3 separate regions of the Homo sapiens genome follow, and regions 1 and 3 are each linked to region 2. The links are contacts of gene promoters, found by promoter capture Hi-C in human tissues and cell types (Jung and others, 2019). All regions are on one chromosome and are shown on one strand. The core of a region is centred on a gene start or on the middle of the fragment in contact, and the rest is flanking DNA. Distances in the headings are between cores, read along the strand shown.

Region 1 (4,621 bases), core at 2,022-4,521, 530 kb after region 2:
TAGTAGAGACGGGTTTCACCATGTTGGCCAGGACGGTCTCAATCTCTTGACCTTGTGATCCGCCCGCCTCGGCCTCCCAAAGTGCTGGGATTACAGCCATTAGCCACCGCGCCCGGCTGACTTTTTTTTTTAAGACCACATTGCATTGTTATCAAAAGTTTATGGTTATTTAATCTTTATAGAGTCAATTCTCAAGTCTTGGGATGGCCTTCTGCAGCTTGACGCGCCAGGCTGGCCTTTTGCCGAGTTAACCAGCAAACCCACACAAGAACGGCAACTGCAGCAGTGTTCTAACATTGACTTGCCAGCTGCTCCCTACAGCTGTCACCTTTCTCTGGCAGGACAGGTGACTAGCATGTTGCTCAGGAGATCCCCAATAGAACCAGGGTCATTTGGGGAGCTCAGAGTAGAAGAGAGATGGAAATGCTAGGATGGACCATGCACTGGGGGAAGGGGAGGAGGAAGCCACCCTGTAGACTTGAGACTGAGTCTTAATTCAAGTTCAAACTCTGTTGTTAACCAACATCCAAAGTTATGCAATAGCTTACACTGCCTCTGTTAAAAACTTGTGAAATATCACTCATTGATAAACTATTGTAATACTTTTCCTTAGCTCGGTTTCTCAACTGAGGCACTGTTGACATTTCAGGCCAGGTAACCCTCTGTTTTAGGGGCTGTCCTGCGCATTACAGGATTTTAGCAGCATGCCTGGCCTCTGCCCACTCAGTGCCAGTAACACCTTCCTCAGCAATTCATTACGTCTGTCAGAAATGTCTCCAGACATTGCCAGATGTCCCCTGGAGGGGCACAGTTGCCTCCATTTGAGAGGCCCTGCTTCAGAGGATTCACTCTGAGTGAGTTCGCTAATGCATTTGAGCAAATTGGAAGTTCTTCCCTGGGCCAGAGGCTCAGTAGCCAAAACAGAATTACCCAGAGAACTAGGCCTCCGTAGAACAGTCATTGCCTGAAAGGGGCAGGAGGTGACTGGGCGGAATGGCACAAGTGGCCCCAGAGCAGGTCCAGCCCCCTCCCACCGCAGCATCCAGAAAGACCCGTGGGCATTCGGTAGATGAGCCCAAGATCTAGAAATGGAACATTACTGGAGAAAAGGGCCTAGGAGACTAGAGGTAGCTCTACTCTCAGTGTGAGCGTGTGTCAGCACAGGCGTTGTGGTGTCTGATCACAGAGTAAAGGTATGCTTCCTTAATCTTGCATTGAAAACCATCTCCTTCGCATACACCATATGCAAAACCAAATTCAGGTAGATTAAAAAGCGAGAAAAGTAAACAAAACTGCAGATGCATTCAGGATAAAAGTAAGATAATAATTTTATTGTGTTGAGTTATGAAAAGCCTTCCTTAAAAAGATACAGCCCAGAGATGAGAAAGGAAAAGGCACAAAAGGCCCCTGTCATGCGCCATGGATGAAGATACAAGTTGAATGCCAGAAAGCGAGGGGCACAATTTAAAGTGTTCATTTTTAGATTTAGCAAGTCTACTTTCACACATGTATCCTATAAAAATATTTGCACATATGCATAACGGCACATACAAGGACATAACTGCAGCAATGGCAAGGAGTGATGAAAAAGTAGGAACAGTGGCCAAATCGAGTGATAACAGAAAAGGAGGCAGCACTGTGAGGAAGGTTGCGCAGAGTGCACCGCAGTGAGCACGGCCTGCGCCTAGACCCCTGTGCTGTCTGAGACCACCTCTGGAGTATGCAGCCATGTGTGGATCACAGGTGTCAAATAGCGAAGTTACTCTGGAAGAGTTTTTTTTGTTTGTTTTTTTGGGGGGTTTTTTTGTTTTTTTTTTGTTTTGTTTTGTTTGTGCAGACAGAGTCTCGCTCTGTCGCCCACACTGGAGTGCAGTCACGTGATGTCGGCTCACTGCAAGCTCTTGCCTCCCGGGTTCACGCCATTCGCCTGCCTCAGCCTCCCGAGTAGCTGGGACTACAGGCGCCCGCCACCATGCCTGTAGTCCTAATTTTTTCTGTTTTTTAGTAGAGATGGGGTTTCACCGTGTTAGCCAGGATGGTCCCGATCGCCTGACCTCGTGATCCGCCTGCCTCGGCCTCCCAAAATGCTGGAATTACAGGCATGAGCCATCGCTCCCGACTTAATTTTGCATTCTTAGTGGAGACGGGGGTTTCACCATGTTGGCCAGGCTGGTCTCGAACTCCTGACCTCAGGTGATCCACTCGCCTCAGCCTCCCAAAGAGCTGGGATTACAGGTGTGAGTCACTGCGCTCAGCTTAATTTTGTATTTTTAGTAGAGATGGGGTTTCTCCGTTTTGGTCAGGCTGGTCTTGAACTCCTGACCTCAGGTGATCCACCTGCCTCGGCCTCCCAAAGTGCTGGGATTACAGGCATGAGCCATTGTGCCCGGCCACATTTTTCTTTTTAAATCATTTTTATTCAGGTACAACTTATCCAAAAATCAGCACCACTGGTTTGTTTATTGCAGAAAAATGAAATTTAGAAGTTTGGTCTAAATTTTCTAGCTCGCTAAGGAATCTTCGAAAATTCCCAATTTTCCTATTTCTCACTAATGTAGGAAATATTTAAAAGCCAGCAAAGAAGAAAACATCTTTTAAAATCTCATTGTCTATACGTAATCACTAAGAACCTTTTGCAACTTTCCCTTATAGTTTTTTAACCTGTATATGAGGCGTTCTCTGTCCTGAAGTAATGTCCTGCCTCTGGCTAGCTCCTGTGACGGTAGCCCTCCCGGGGCTGGCCCTGGGTGAGGAGGGGTGGCGGCGGGGAGGTGAGCCCAGGAAAGGCTGCCCTCGCCAAGGCTCGGAAACTTCATTCGTGCACCGCACGAGGCGATGGCTCAGGGCAGGCTTGGACACCAATACTTTGCCAGCTCCTGAGGCACCGGACAGGCTCTGGCCAGAGCTTAATTGGTTAGCCCTAGAACGTTCCACGTTCACGTCAGACTCCATAGTAGGGACTTTCTCCTCAGAGCTGGGCAGGAGGAGCCCACTGAGGGTGTGCCATCTCTGCCCTCCAGGGAAAGCGGGAAGCAACAGGGAAACATCCATCTGCTCCGCCCTAGAGCCCCTGTCAATTTTGGACCCACCGCTATAGGTCTTCTGCCCCATACTGTTAGAAAAAGATGCAGGTTACCTGGGCACGTAAACGGTTTTCAGGAGTGGAGTGCCTGAGATCCCAGAGTCCACCTTTCCTTTATATAACACTCGTGTCACAGGACAGATTAGATTTCTTCCGTGTTTGGAGAACATTAGTCCTTTAAAATATCAGCCTGTGCTGCAAAGTGGGGTGGATTCTCTAGTCTCAGTCACTGTCTCAGCAGTGCTGTTGAAGCCCTCTCACCTGCTCCTTCTGGACTTCCTAGGGCTGCAGACCACAAGACTGGGAAACCACTTGGAAGACCGAGTGAACAAATTTTTGCGGCGCCAGAATCACCCTGAAGCCGGGGAGGTTTTTGTCCGAGTGGTGGCCAGCTCAGACAAGACGGTGGAGGTCAAGCCCGGGATGAAGTCACGGTCAGTGTGCCTGCTCTCTACAGTGCTCTGCGAGCAGTCCCCACGCCCGCTTGCCAGAGCCTGCTCTCTGCAAAGCTCTTGAGTTTGAGGTCATCCTTCCAAGACTTTGCAGCAGCGAATGCGTGCAGTAGCCCCCTCAGCTGCGGTTGTCCTGTCTGGGGTTTTAGTTACCCTATACAGTGCAGTAAGCTATTTTGAGAGAGAGACCACATACCATATTATAGTATACTGTTTATAATTTTCTTATTTTATTATTACTTATTCTTGTTAATCTCTTGCTGTGCCTAATTTATAAATTAAAATTTTGTGACCAGTACAGGTGTATAAGAAAAAACGCATAGAGGTTGATACTGTCCATGGTTTCCAGCATCCACTGCTGGTCTTGGAACATACACCCCGTGGATAAGGGGGACTGCTGTATAGCCAGTCCTCCTCAGAATCCCGTATTTCATTCACAGAGGTGCAGTTCCCTAGTGAGGGAAACTGGTCAGAAAGCAAGTGCTCCCTGCTCCGGGGCTGACTGGCCCATAGGGAGGACTCCAGGCCACGGTCTGAGGAGGTGGCCATGCCTCCGCTCATCTGCAGTGGCCAGAGTTAGAGGAGCAGGCCTGGTGTGCAGAAGCACCTTGTCAGCAACAGCCTTTGTAAATGTCCGGCTCTGGCTTTTGTTTCAGGTTTGTGGATTCTGGGGAAATGTCTGAATCTTTCCCATATCGAACCAAAGCTCTGTTTGCTTTTGAGGAAATTGACGGCGTGGATGTCTGCTTTTTTGGAATGCACGTCCAAGAATACGGCTCTGATTGCCCCCCTCCAAACACGAGGTAGTTTTCCAGCTCCTTCCAGGGCGTGTCATTCAGTGAGCCGTGTTAGGATAGACCAGGGCTCTTAAGTGTCCCAGAGGAGCCTGTGAGCCTTCATAGGGGATTAAAGTAAATGAAACCACAATTAACTAACCAAAGTAGTTAGTTTTGTTTTCCATTAAACTAGCGGGAAATGAACTGTTGAGATGACTGCAGTGAGCGTGTTTTGTGTGGCGAGTCTGTGTGGGACCCGCTCTTACCTAACGCAGGTAAACCTGGGGAGTTGGGATGGGACAGCCTGGCAC
Region 2 (4,849 bases), core at 1,410-3,909:
TTAGCCAGGCCTGGTGGCAGGCGCCTGTAATCTCAGCTACTTGGGAGGCTGAGGCAGGAGAACAGGAGAATCGCTTAAACCTGGGAGGTAGAGGTTCCAGTGAGCCGAGATCGCGCCACTGCACTCCAGCCTGGGCGACAGTGTGAGACTCCGTCTCAAAAAAAAAAAAAAAAATTGAACCAGGGAGACAGCCAGAGAACACTCTGAAGGCCACATATAACTAAGTATGACAGAATGCTTTGCTCTGGAAAATAACAAAAGCAAGTACAAAATAAGGCCCTGATCAGAGGTGAGGTGTGGCAGGTGGGAGGATGAGTGTGATATAAAGAACCAGGGCTTTTTGCAGCCAGCACTCCTGAGTGCATTCTTGTCTGCAGCTGTGAGCTTCTGTCTTCCCATGTGCAAAATGAGAGGATAAGGAGACAGTAATGCACCAGAATAGCTTGCTCACTGCTGGGTGAGGTGGCTGATGCCTGTAATCCTGGCACTTTGGGGGACCGGGGTGGGCAGATCGCCTGAGGTCAGGAGTTTGAGACCAGCCTGGCCAACAGGGCAAAATCCCATCTGTACTAAAAATACAAAAATTAGCCGGGCTTGGTGGTGTGTGCCTGTAACCACAGCTACTTGGGAGGCTGAGGCAGAAGAATCACTTGAACCCAGGAGGCGGAGGTTGCAGTGAGCCGAGATCGTGCCACTGCACTCTAGCCTGGGTGACAAAGCAAGACTCCGTCTTAAAAAACAAAACAAAACAAAACAAAAAAAAGAATAGCTTGCTCACTAAGGGCAGTTAAAAATAGGCTTCCCACCAGGGCCATCCATGGCTCATGCTTGTAATCCCAGCAATTTGGGAGGTAGAGGTAGGATTCCTTGAGTCCCAGGAGTTCAAGACCAGGCTGGGCAACACAGTGAGACTCCTATCTCTATTTGTTGAAAAACAGTAAAAAGGTTTTTTTTTTTTTTTTTTTTTGAGACGGAGTTTCACTCTTGTTGCCCAGGCTGGAGTGCAATGACATGATCTTGGCTCACTGCAACCTCCACCTCCCGGGTTCAAGCGATTCTCCTGCTTCAGCCTCCCGAGTAGCTGAGATTACAGGCATGTGCCACCAGGCCCCCGGCTAATTTTGCATTTTTAGTAGAGACGGGGTTTCTCCATGTTGGTCAGGCTGGTCTCGAACTCCCGACCTCAGGTGATCCACCCGCCTCAGCCTCCCAAAGTGCTGAGATTACAGGCGTGAGCCAACGCGCCCAGCCGAAAGTTTTTTTTTTTTTTTTTTTTTTTTAAGTAGAAACATAGTAAGCCTTCCAGAGACTTTTTTTTGGTCAAGTGGTCTGGGATCTCTCCTTAGAGAAACTGCCTAACAGGTTGCTTCAAGGATTGGAGAGCGTGTAAGCAAAACTGCTCGGCATCCACCGGGTGCTGGCAACATCTAATAACAATATTTCCCAATAATAACAGTAACTATTGTTACTAGTAGGAATAAGTCAAATTAGGAGGCGCGATTTAGGCGGAACCTGGAAGGCGGTGGGCAGGATCCAGGACATTCCAAGGCAGGCGTGGGCTTCCTGAGCCAGGAGCCAACCCTCCAGGAGCCAGGGGAGGGCCTGGGGCCGGAAGGTGCGGCGTGCGAGCGGAGGACGGAAGCTCGCCGCCAGGGTCCCCGTCCCTGCCCCAAGTCGTCACCCCCTCTTGGGGAGCGCATCCTGGCGGAGGGGCAAGTCCCACACGGGCTTTGTTATGAATGGGAAGCTGCAGCCTTCAGCCCGCGGAGGGAACAGTGCGGGTCTGGGGGAATAGCAGGGGACCCGGCAGCAACCAGCAGACCTCCCCGCAGCGCTGGCAGCCTGCGCCCGGGGGCCGCTGCCGTTCAGGCCCGCCTCCACCCTCCCCTCCCTGCCGGGGCCCCCGGCTTCCTAGGGCGGCCCCAGCATCCGAGGCGCCCTTTGCCGTCCCGTCGCCGGGTCCAAGATTCCCAGGATCCGGAGTCCCGGCCGTGCGGCCAGCTAAGCAAGGCGGGAGGGAGGAAGCTGGCCGGCCTCCGAAGTCAGCCCCGAGTTACATGTGGGAAGCGGTGGCTGTGACGCAAGTTTCCAGGGGGCCCTGGGCTCGGCTCGAAGGGAGCACACCGGAGAGGCTCCGCTCCGTGCAGCTGCAATGGTGAAAAAGCAGAAGCCCCAAGCGCGAACCCCAGGCCGCCTTCCTTGCTGCCGCTGCACGCCCGACCCAGCCGCGCCCCCTCCTCCCTGCGGGCCGGCCGAGCGCGCGGACCCTGCTCTGGGCCAGTCGCTGCTGGACTCCGGGCTGCACGGGCTGGGCTCCCTGCGCGGTGGCTGGCCTTTTTTTTTTTTTTTTTGCAACGCTTGCCAACCTGTCAGCTGATGGACCTCATCACCCATAGTGGCGCATGTAGCTCGGCCGCAGCTCGCTCCATTCACGCCGCGCCCCGCAAGCCCGCCCGCGGCCCCCGGCCCCCTGCGCCCCGCGAGAGGCCTGCAGACCCCGGTTGCAGCCGGTCCCCGGGGGCCCGCGCCCCTCTCGCCCCGGCCTCGCGCCGCCCGGGGGGCGCTGCAAATAGTCCTTTGTTTACATGCAATTCCTTACTCCGCGGAAGGAGGCCGGGGGAGTGCTGAGTTTTCACCAGCTGTTTCCCGCCTTGAAACAGACATCTGATCAGCTGCAAACACACACACACACACACACACACACACACACACACACACACACACACATACACACGCCCGGGGAGGCAGGCCGGAGAGACCTCCCTCCCGCCCCTCCCGCCCGCCTCCCTCCCCTCGCCGCCGCCGCCGCCGCCAGCATCTGGGACCGGCCGATTCTGCACCTCCGTCCGGCGCTGCCCTTTGATTCGGATTTCCATCTTGCATTCTCCGGCTGATCGCGGGACCTGGCTCGTGCAGAGGAGGGGGGCCGATCGCTATGGAGTATTTCATGGTGCCCACTCAGAAGGTGCCCTCTTTGCAACATTTCAGGAAAACAGAGAAAGAAGTGATAGGAGGGCTCTGTAGGTGTGTACTCCTCCTCCCCCCACCCCCTTCCTACCACTGCAGCCCCCGGCCAGCCCGCCCGGGCGGGCGCGCGTGTGCGCACGCATGGCCCGCGCCGCCGACCCCGCTAGCCTTTCTTAGCTGCCGGGACGGCTGCAGCCCCACACGCCGGGTCCGCGCCGCCCCGGGACCCTCCTTCCTTGGAGCATGGGGGCCCCAAGCGGCCCCGGCCACTTTTGTCCGCTGCAGGCGGGCGAGTCGCGACGTTTGTAAATTGCAAACAGACCCACGTGGTTCTGCAGCAGTCCCGGCCATGCTTGGTGCTGGTGGCCTTCCCCCCCGCGCTTCCTCTTTCCCCCTCCTGCGGCGGCTTCCTTCCTCTCCTTCCTTCCTCGGGATCTGAGGTCGTCCCCATCCAAGGGGGTCTGGGGGCCCGGGGCGCGCGTGGGGGTGTAGCTAGGGCGGCTACAATGCAGCCATGCCGCGGCTCCCGGCGCGGGGTGGGGGCGGGGAGCCGGGCACTGTGCGTGTTTGCAGAGCGGGGCTGCAGCGGGGTCGGGGGCGTGCTCGCGTGTGGGTGTTGGGGGTGGGCGGACCCCGAGGGGCCCGCGCGGCCGGTAGGGGCGCCGCGGCCCGGGGCACGTTGGCTGCCGCTCGCTCGCCCGCCCGCGCCCGGGCGCTGTTTACTAGCGAGGCCTGGACGTGACTCTGCAGCCCTCTTGGAGTAGGCGGACCTCTGCGCGCGGCCTCGCGGGAGCTGTAGTTCTCCGTGTCCTGCTGGTGCAGCATTGTGGGATTTGTAGGCGCTCCTGGGCCACGCTTTCCCTGCACAAAGCTCGGCCCCCGCGGGCACGATGGGCAAGGCAGGCCAGGTGGGCAGGCCATTTGGGGAAGGGACACCTGAGGCCGCCCCTAGCCTCGCAGGGCAGCTTCCCGCCGCACGTGGGTTTCCTCTGCAAACTTTCCCATCCAACGCCCCTCCCCCCTGCCGTAAACCGAAAGCGTCGGGTCCCCCAGCCGGGTGGGTGGCCCGAGGTCCGCAGGCCTCCCCAGAAGCCACTTTGCAAGCTTTGGTCCTAGGTTGCTCTAAACCCAAAGGGTGATGGACTCAAGGACCACACACAGCCAAACCACCCCGCACACTTCTTAAAATGCACATGCCTGGAACTCTGATCGCTGGGGCCCGGACATCTGCATTTTGAACGACCCCCTGGGCGTGGTGTGGGGGAGGTGGGCGTTCTACGGCGTGCGCAAGTTTGGGACCTGTGGCCCCTTTCCTGCCGCGCTGCTCCAGGAGCGAAATGGCTCCCCAGGGCTGGAGCCACGTGCTCTGCCGCCCGAGGCAGTCTGGGCGGGGATTGAGGGAGGAGGAGCCCGCCGGTGTGGCACAGGCTGGTGGACGCTAGCGCCTGCAGAATCCGGCCTGGAGGGAAGGTTGCTGCACACGTGTAGACACTCCTGCCCAACCCTCTGCCCCGGGGGTCCCCACCTTAAGGCTACTCTGAAGTTCCCAGTCAATACCTAGACTTGGGCCAGTTGATGGGTTTGGCAGCTGGCAGGGATGCCCCGAGGGCTGGCCCTTGCACGAGGCCCACCTGGAGGGCCCAGTAATAATAAGTAAAAAAAATTCTTGAGCTCTTTTTATGTTCTGGGGACTCACTTTGCTAGAATTTTCTCACTGAGTTGTCATAATCTTTCTATGAGTCAAAAGTGTCTTTTGATTCCGCTTAAAGAGGCGGACACAGAGACTGGAGAAGGGACCACTACAGCAGGTGGTGGAACTGGAACTTGAACCCTTGTCCTGGGGTTGCTGCTGCTGCAGGGCTGGGCTGGGCAGCGCGGAGGT
Region 3 (4,790 bases), core at 1,257-3,756, 670 kb after region 2:
AGCCTGAAAGCCTTAAAACTGGTCAGATGATGGATGAGTCTGATGAGGACTTTAAAGAACTCTGCGCTAGCTTTTTCCAAAGGGTGAAAAAACATGGAATCAAGGAAGTGTCAGGAGAAAGGAAGACACAAAAGGCTGCCTCAAACGGCACTCAGATAAGAAGCAAATTGAAAAGGACCAAACAAACTGCTACCAAGACCAAAACCCTTCAAGGCCCTGCAGAGAAGAAACCTCCGTCTGGCAGCCAGGCCCCTAGGACTAAAAAGCAAAGGGTAACCAAATGGCAAGCAAGTGAACCGGCCCACTCTGTGAATGGGGAGGGGGGTGTGCTTGCCTCTGCTCCAGATCCACCTGTGCTCCGGGAAACAGCACAAAACACCCAGACGGGTAACCAGCAAGAACCATCGCCAAACCTTTCCAGAGAGAAAACCAGAGGTAATTTGTACTCTTTTAAACCAGGGGCTGGAAAACTTCCTGGAAAGGGCCAGATCGTAAATATTTTGGCTTTGTAGGCCACACAGACTCTGTCACAACTACTCAACTCTGCTGTCATAGTGAGAAAGCAGGCGTGGACAATATGTAAATGAACAGGCATGGCCATATGCCAGTAAAACTTTATTTACAAAAACAGGCAGCCAGCCACATGACCGTAGTTTGCTAACTTTTGGTTTGTTTTTATTTTTTAATTTTTAAGCTTAAAAAAAAATTTAGAGCTGGAGGTCTCACTATGTTGCCCAGGCTGGTCTTGAACTCCTGGACTCAAGCAATCCTCGTGCCTCAGCCTCTCAGAGTGCTGGGATTACAGGCGTAAGCCACTGCGCCCGGCTGACTCCTGGTTTAAACAACAGTCAAGAAAAACATAACCCGTGTGAATTTTTCACATGATTGTGTTTGGAGTCCTCTGCTCTTTCAGAATTTCCTATGAAATTCTGTTATATGATTGACATGAGTTACACAAACAACACAATAATGCTGCTTCTCTTGTTTTCTTGAATTTATTCCAAAGTGGGTAAGTTGGACTGGGCCAGCCAATTTGGATAGGCTGCTGAGAGGGCCGCATGAGGACTCTGTGTGGGCTCAAGTCCCAGGAGAATCTTCAGGTTCTTTCTTTCTCTCTCTGAAGACCTTTTAATCTTTTCCTTTGTTATTGTTATTGATTTATTTACTTACTTAGTTTTTAGAGACAGGATCTTGGTCTCTCACCCAGGCTGGAGTGCAGTGGTGCTATCATAGCTTACTGCAGCCTTGACCTCCCAGGTTCAAGCAGTCCTCCCTGCCTCAGCCTCCCGAGTAGCTGGGACCACAGGCACCCACCACCGTGCCTGGATAATTTTTTAACTGTTTAAAGCAGTTTTCTTGCCCTGCTGCCCTTGGTATACTGAGCTATATGCTTACTACACATTCTTCATGCAAAACTGAAAACTACCCTTGCATATATAATACACCATGGGCTCTCTGAGCTCCTGAGTTCTGTTTCTAAATTTCCTTTGCCCTCACTTCCTGATCTTAATAACCTCTCAGTAGAGTGGTGGTAGAGTCTCAGGTCGCATAGACTACTGGAAGGCATCAGCAGTGTTGCCTCACCAACTTTACTGGTCTCTCGTGCTCTTTGCCAGTCGGATGAAATCTATGCATGGTTCCCCCAAAACACGTATCCATGCGCGTATCTGCAAAACTGGCACACAACTTCATGGGGTTCATGGATCCCCACTGAAGATCATCCGTGGATCCCAAGTTAAAGAAGAACTGATCTAGGACATAAACCTTTGTCATTAATATTTCTTTAATAATAGCTTTATTGGGGTATAATTGATATTCCATAAAATTCACCATTTAAAAGGGTATGGTTCAGTGGTTTTTAGTATATTCACAGACTTGTCCAACCACCACCACTACCTAACGTTAGAACAGTTTTATCATCCTAAAAATAAACCCCATGCTCATTAGCAGTCACATCCCATTCCCCTCCTGTTATTGATATTTATGTCTATATTGCCATAAACAAAGAGGTTACCAACAAGCAACCAGTCCTCTTCACATTTGTGAGTCAAACCTAAACTAGTTGATAAAGGACTCTTGAAACTTGCGTCTAACCTGTATCTGGTAGAAAAGTCTTTTATTTCTCCAGCTACAACAGATGGTTGTGAATATTTTCCTCCTTGCCAGAGAATGTGCCCAACAGCGACTCCCAGCCTCCTCCTTCCTGTTTGACAACAGCAGTGCCAAGTCCCTCCAAACCCCGCACAGCACAATTGGTCCTACAGCGAATGCAGCAGTTCAAGAGAGCAGACCCCGAGCGTTTGAGACACGCTTCAGAAGAGTGCTCCCTCGAGGCTGCGCGGGAAGAAAATGTCCCAAAGGATCCTCAAGAGGAGATGATGGCGGGGAATGGTATGATGAGTGTGTTTCTGTCTTCCACACAGAGATAAGTTAATACAACTCTGAGGAAGGGAGGCGGGAAGGAATCAGCATTTGTTGAGTTTCTTCTGTGGATAGGCTCTCTGCTTGATGTTTTACCTTTGCCACTTCACTGGATCCAGCCAGAGAATGAAGAGTCTCTGGGATCATTTCCCACCTAGCTTCCTTGATAAGGTACCGTTTTGTTTTTTTTTCTGAGACAGAGCCTTGCTCTGTCACCCAGGCTGGAGTGCAGTGACATGATCTCAGCTCACTGCAACCTCCGCCTCCCAGGTTCAAGCAATTATCTTGCCCCAGCCAGTGGGATTACAGACGTGTGCCACCACACCTGGCCAATTTTTGTATTTTTAGTAGAGACAGGGTTTCGCCAAGTTGGCCAGGCTGGTCTCGAACTCCTGACCTCAAGTGATCTGCCTACCTCAGCTCCCCAAAGTGCTGGGATTACAGGCGTGAACCATTGCACCTGGCCCTCTTCCTTTTTTTTTTTTTTTTTTTTTTTTGAGATGGAGTCTCGCTCCGTCACCCAGGCTGGAGTGCAGTGGCACGATATTAGCTCACTGCAAGCTCCACCTCCCAGGTTCACGCCATTCTCCTGCCTCAGCCTCCCGAGTAGCTGGGACTACAGGCTCCCACCACCACGCCTGGCTAATTTTTTGTATTTTTAGTAGAGACAAGGTTTCACCTTGTTAGCCAGGATGGTCTCGATCTCCTGACCTCGTGATCCACCCGCCTTGGCCTCCCAAAGTGCTGGGATTACAGGCGTGAGCCACTGTGCCTGGCCTCCTTTTTTTAAAAATTATGACTTTTTATTATGAAAGCTTTCCCTTTCAGTTTTTTCCTTTTAAAAAGATAACCCTCAGTATTCACAAAGAACTCTTCCTTTCAGAAAAGGTTTTTTTGTTGTTGTTGTTTTAATTACAATGAAGCCAGGCATGATGGCTCATGCCTATAATCCCAAAACTTTGGGAGGCCAAGGCAGGAGGACTACTTGAGGTCACAAGTTCGAGACCAGCCTGGACAACATAGTGAGACCCCCATCTCTACAAAAAAATTTTAGGGGCCAGGCGTGGTGGCTCACGCCTGTAATGCCAGCACTTTGGGAGGCCGAGGTGCGCAGATCACAAGGTCAGGAGATTGAGACCATCCTGGCTAACACAGTGAAACCCCATCTCTATGAAAAATACAAAAAATTAGCAAGGTATGGTGGTGGGTGCCTGTAGTCCCAGCTACTCGGGAGGCTGAGGCAGGAGAATGGCGTGAACCTGGGAGACAGAGCTTGCAGTGAGCCGAGATTGCACCACTGCACTCCAGCCTGGGCAACAGAGCAAGACTCTGACTCAAAAAAAAATTTTTTTTTAATTAGCTGGGCATGATGGTGCACAACTGTAGTCCCAGCTACTCGGGAGGCTGAGGTGGGAGGATTGCTTGAGCCCAGGACGTTGAGCTGCAGTGAGCTGTGATTGCATCATTGCACTCCAGGGCAACAGAGTGAGACCCTGTCTCAAAAAAAAAAAAAAAAAAATTACAATGAATCCCCTAATCCCCTATACCTCAATCTAGATTTAACAAATGTTAACATTTGGCCATTTGTTTATGTCTTTATAAATATACATTTTTTTTTTTTTTTGAGATGGAGTCTTGGTCTGTCTCCCAGGTTGGGGTGCAGTGGCGCAATCTCGGCTCACTGCAAACTCCACCTCCTGGGTTCAAGCCATTCTCCTGCCTCAGCTTCCAGGAAGCTGGGACTACAGGCATGCACCACCACGTCCAGCTAATTTTTGTATTTTTAGTAGAGTTGGGGTTTCACCATGCCGGCCAGGCTGTTCTGGAACTCCTGACCTTGTGATCTGTCCACCTCAGTCTCCCAAAGTGCTGGGATTACAGACGTGAGCCACCGTGCCTAGCCAAGCGTACATATTTTTCTTCCATATTATCTGAAGGTAAATTATAGACATTAGGATCCTTTACCCCTAGATTCTGCTGCATAACCACAATACCATTAGCACGCTTAATTCCATAATAGTGCCTGGCGTCCAGTTCAAACTCAAATTTCCCTGGTTGTCTCAAGGTTATTTTTTGTAGCTGGTTTCTTTTTTTTCTGAACAAGGATTCAGTAAGTTCACACACTGCATATTGCTGTAGCTCAGCAGTATCCTAAGGTCTAGATTCTAGAATAGTCCCCCATTTCCTTTTGTTTTCCATGACACTGACTTTTTTTTTTTTTTTTTTTGACAGAGGCTTGGCTAGAGTGCAGTGGCACAATCTCGGTTCACTGCAACCTCTGCCTCCCAGGTTCAAGCTATTCTCGTGCCTCGGCCTCCTGAGTAGCTGGGATTACAAGCACCCACCACCACACCCGGCTAATTTTTTTG

The links. The method cuts DNA at HindIII sites, captures the fragments that hold promoters and counts their contacts. A contact is called where the count stands out against the background at its distance.
Region 1: a contact is called between a fragment that was not itself captured here and the fragment with the promoter of TFAP4 in region 2, in 1 of the 25 tissues and cell types used here (dorsolateral prefrontal cortex).
Region 3: a fragment that was not itself captured here is called in contact with the fragment with the promoter of TFAP4 in region 2 in 1 of the 25 tissues and cell types used here (dorsolateral prefrontal cortex).

Annotation. Positions count from the first base shown.
Region 1 is chr16:3,739,294-3,743,914 of GRCh38, reverse strand. It overlaps CREBBP (CREB binding lysine acetyltransferase), which reads left to right. Exons shown (of 31, transcript NM_004380.3): 24 at 3,366-3,516; 25 at 4,191-4,337. Among named protein-coding and RNA genes, the nearest start is that of TRAP1, 24 kb to the right of the region's middle. The HindIII fragment of the contact is 9,134 bases long and covers 1-4,621 here.
Region 2 is chr16:4,270,833-4,275,681 of GRCh38, reverse strand. TFAP4 (transcription factor AP-4) reads left to right here and starts at 2,659. Exons shown (of 7, transcript NM_003223.3): 1 at 2,659-3,024. The coding sequence starts at 2,936. RefSeq lists silencers at 1,715-2,364, 3,085-3,134, 3,495-3,654 and enhancers at 1,513-2,488, 2,785-2,834, 3,735-3,924, 3,466-4,442. The HindIII fragment of the contact is 15,415 bases long and covers 1-4,849 here.
Region 3 is chr16:3,604,075-3,608,864 of GRCh38, reverse strand. SLX4 (SLX4 structure-specific endonuclease subunit) reads left to right here. Exons shown (of 15, transcript NM_032444.4): 2 at 1-435; 3 at 2,167-2,391. Among named protein-coding and RNA genes, the nearest start is that of SLX4, 5.1 kb to the left of the region's middle. The HindIII fragment of the contact is 4,547 bases long and covers 233-4,779 here.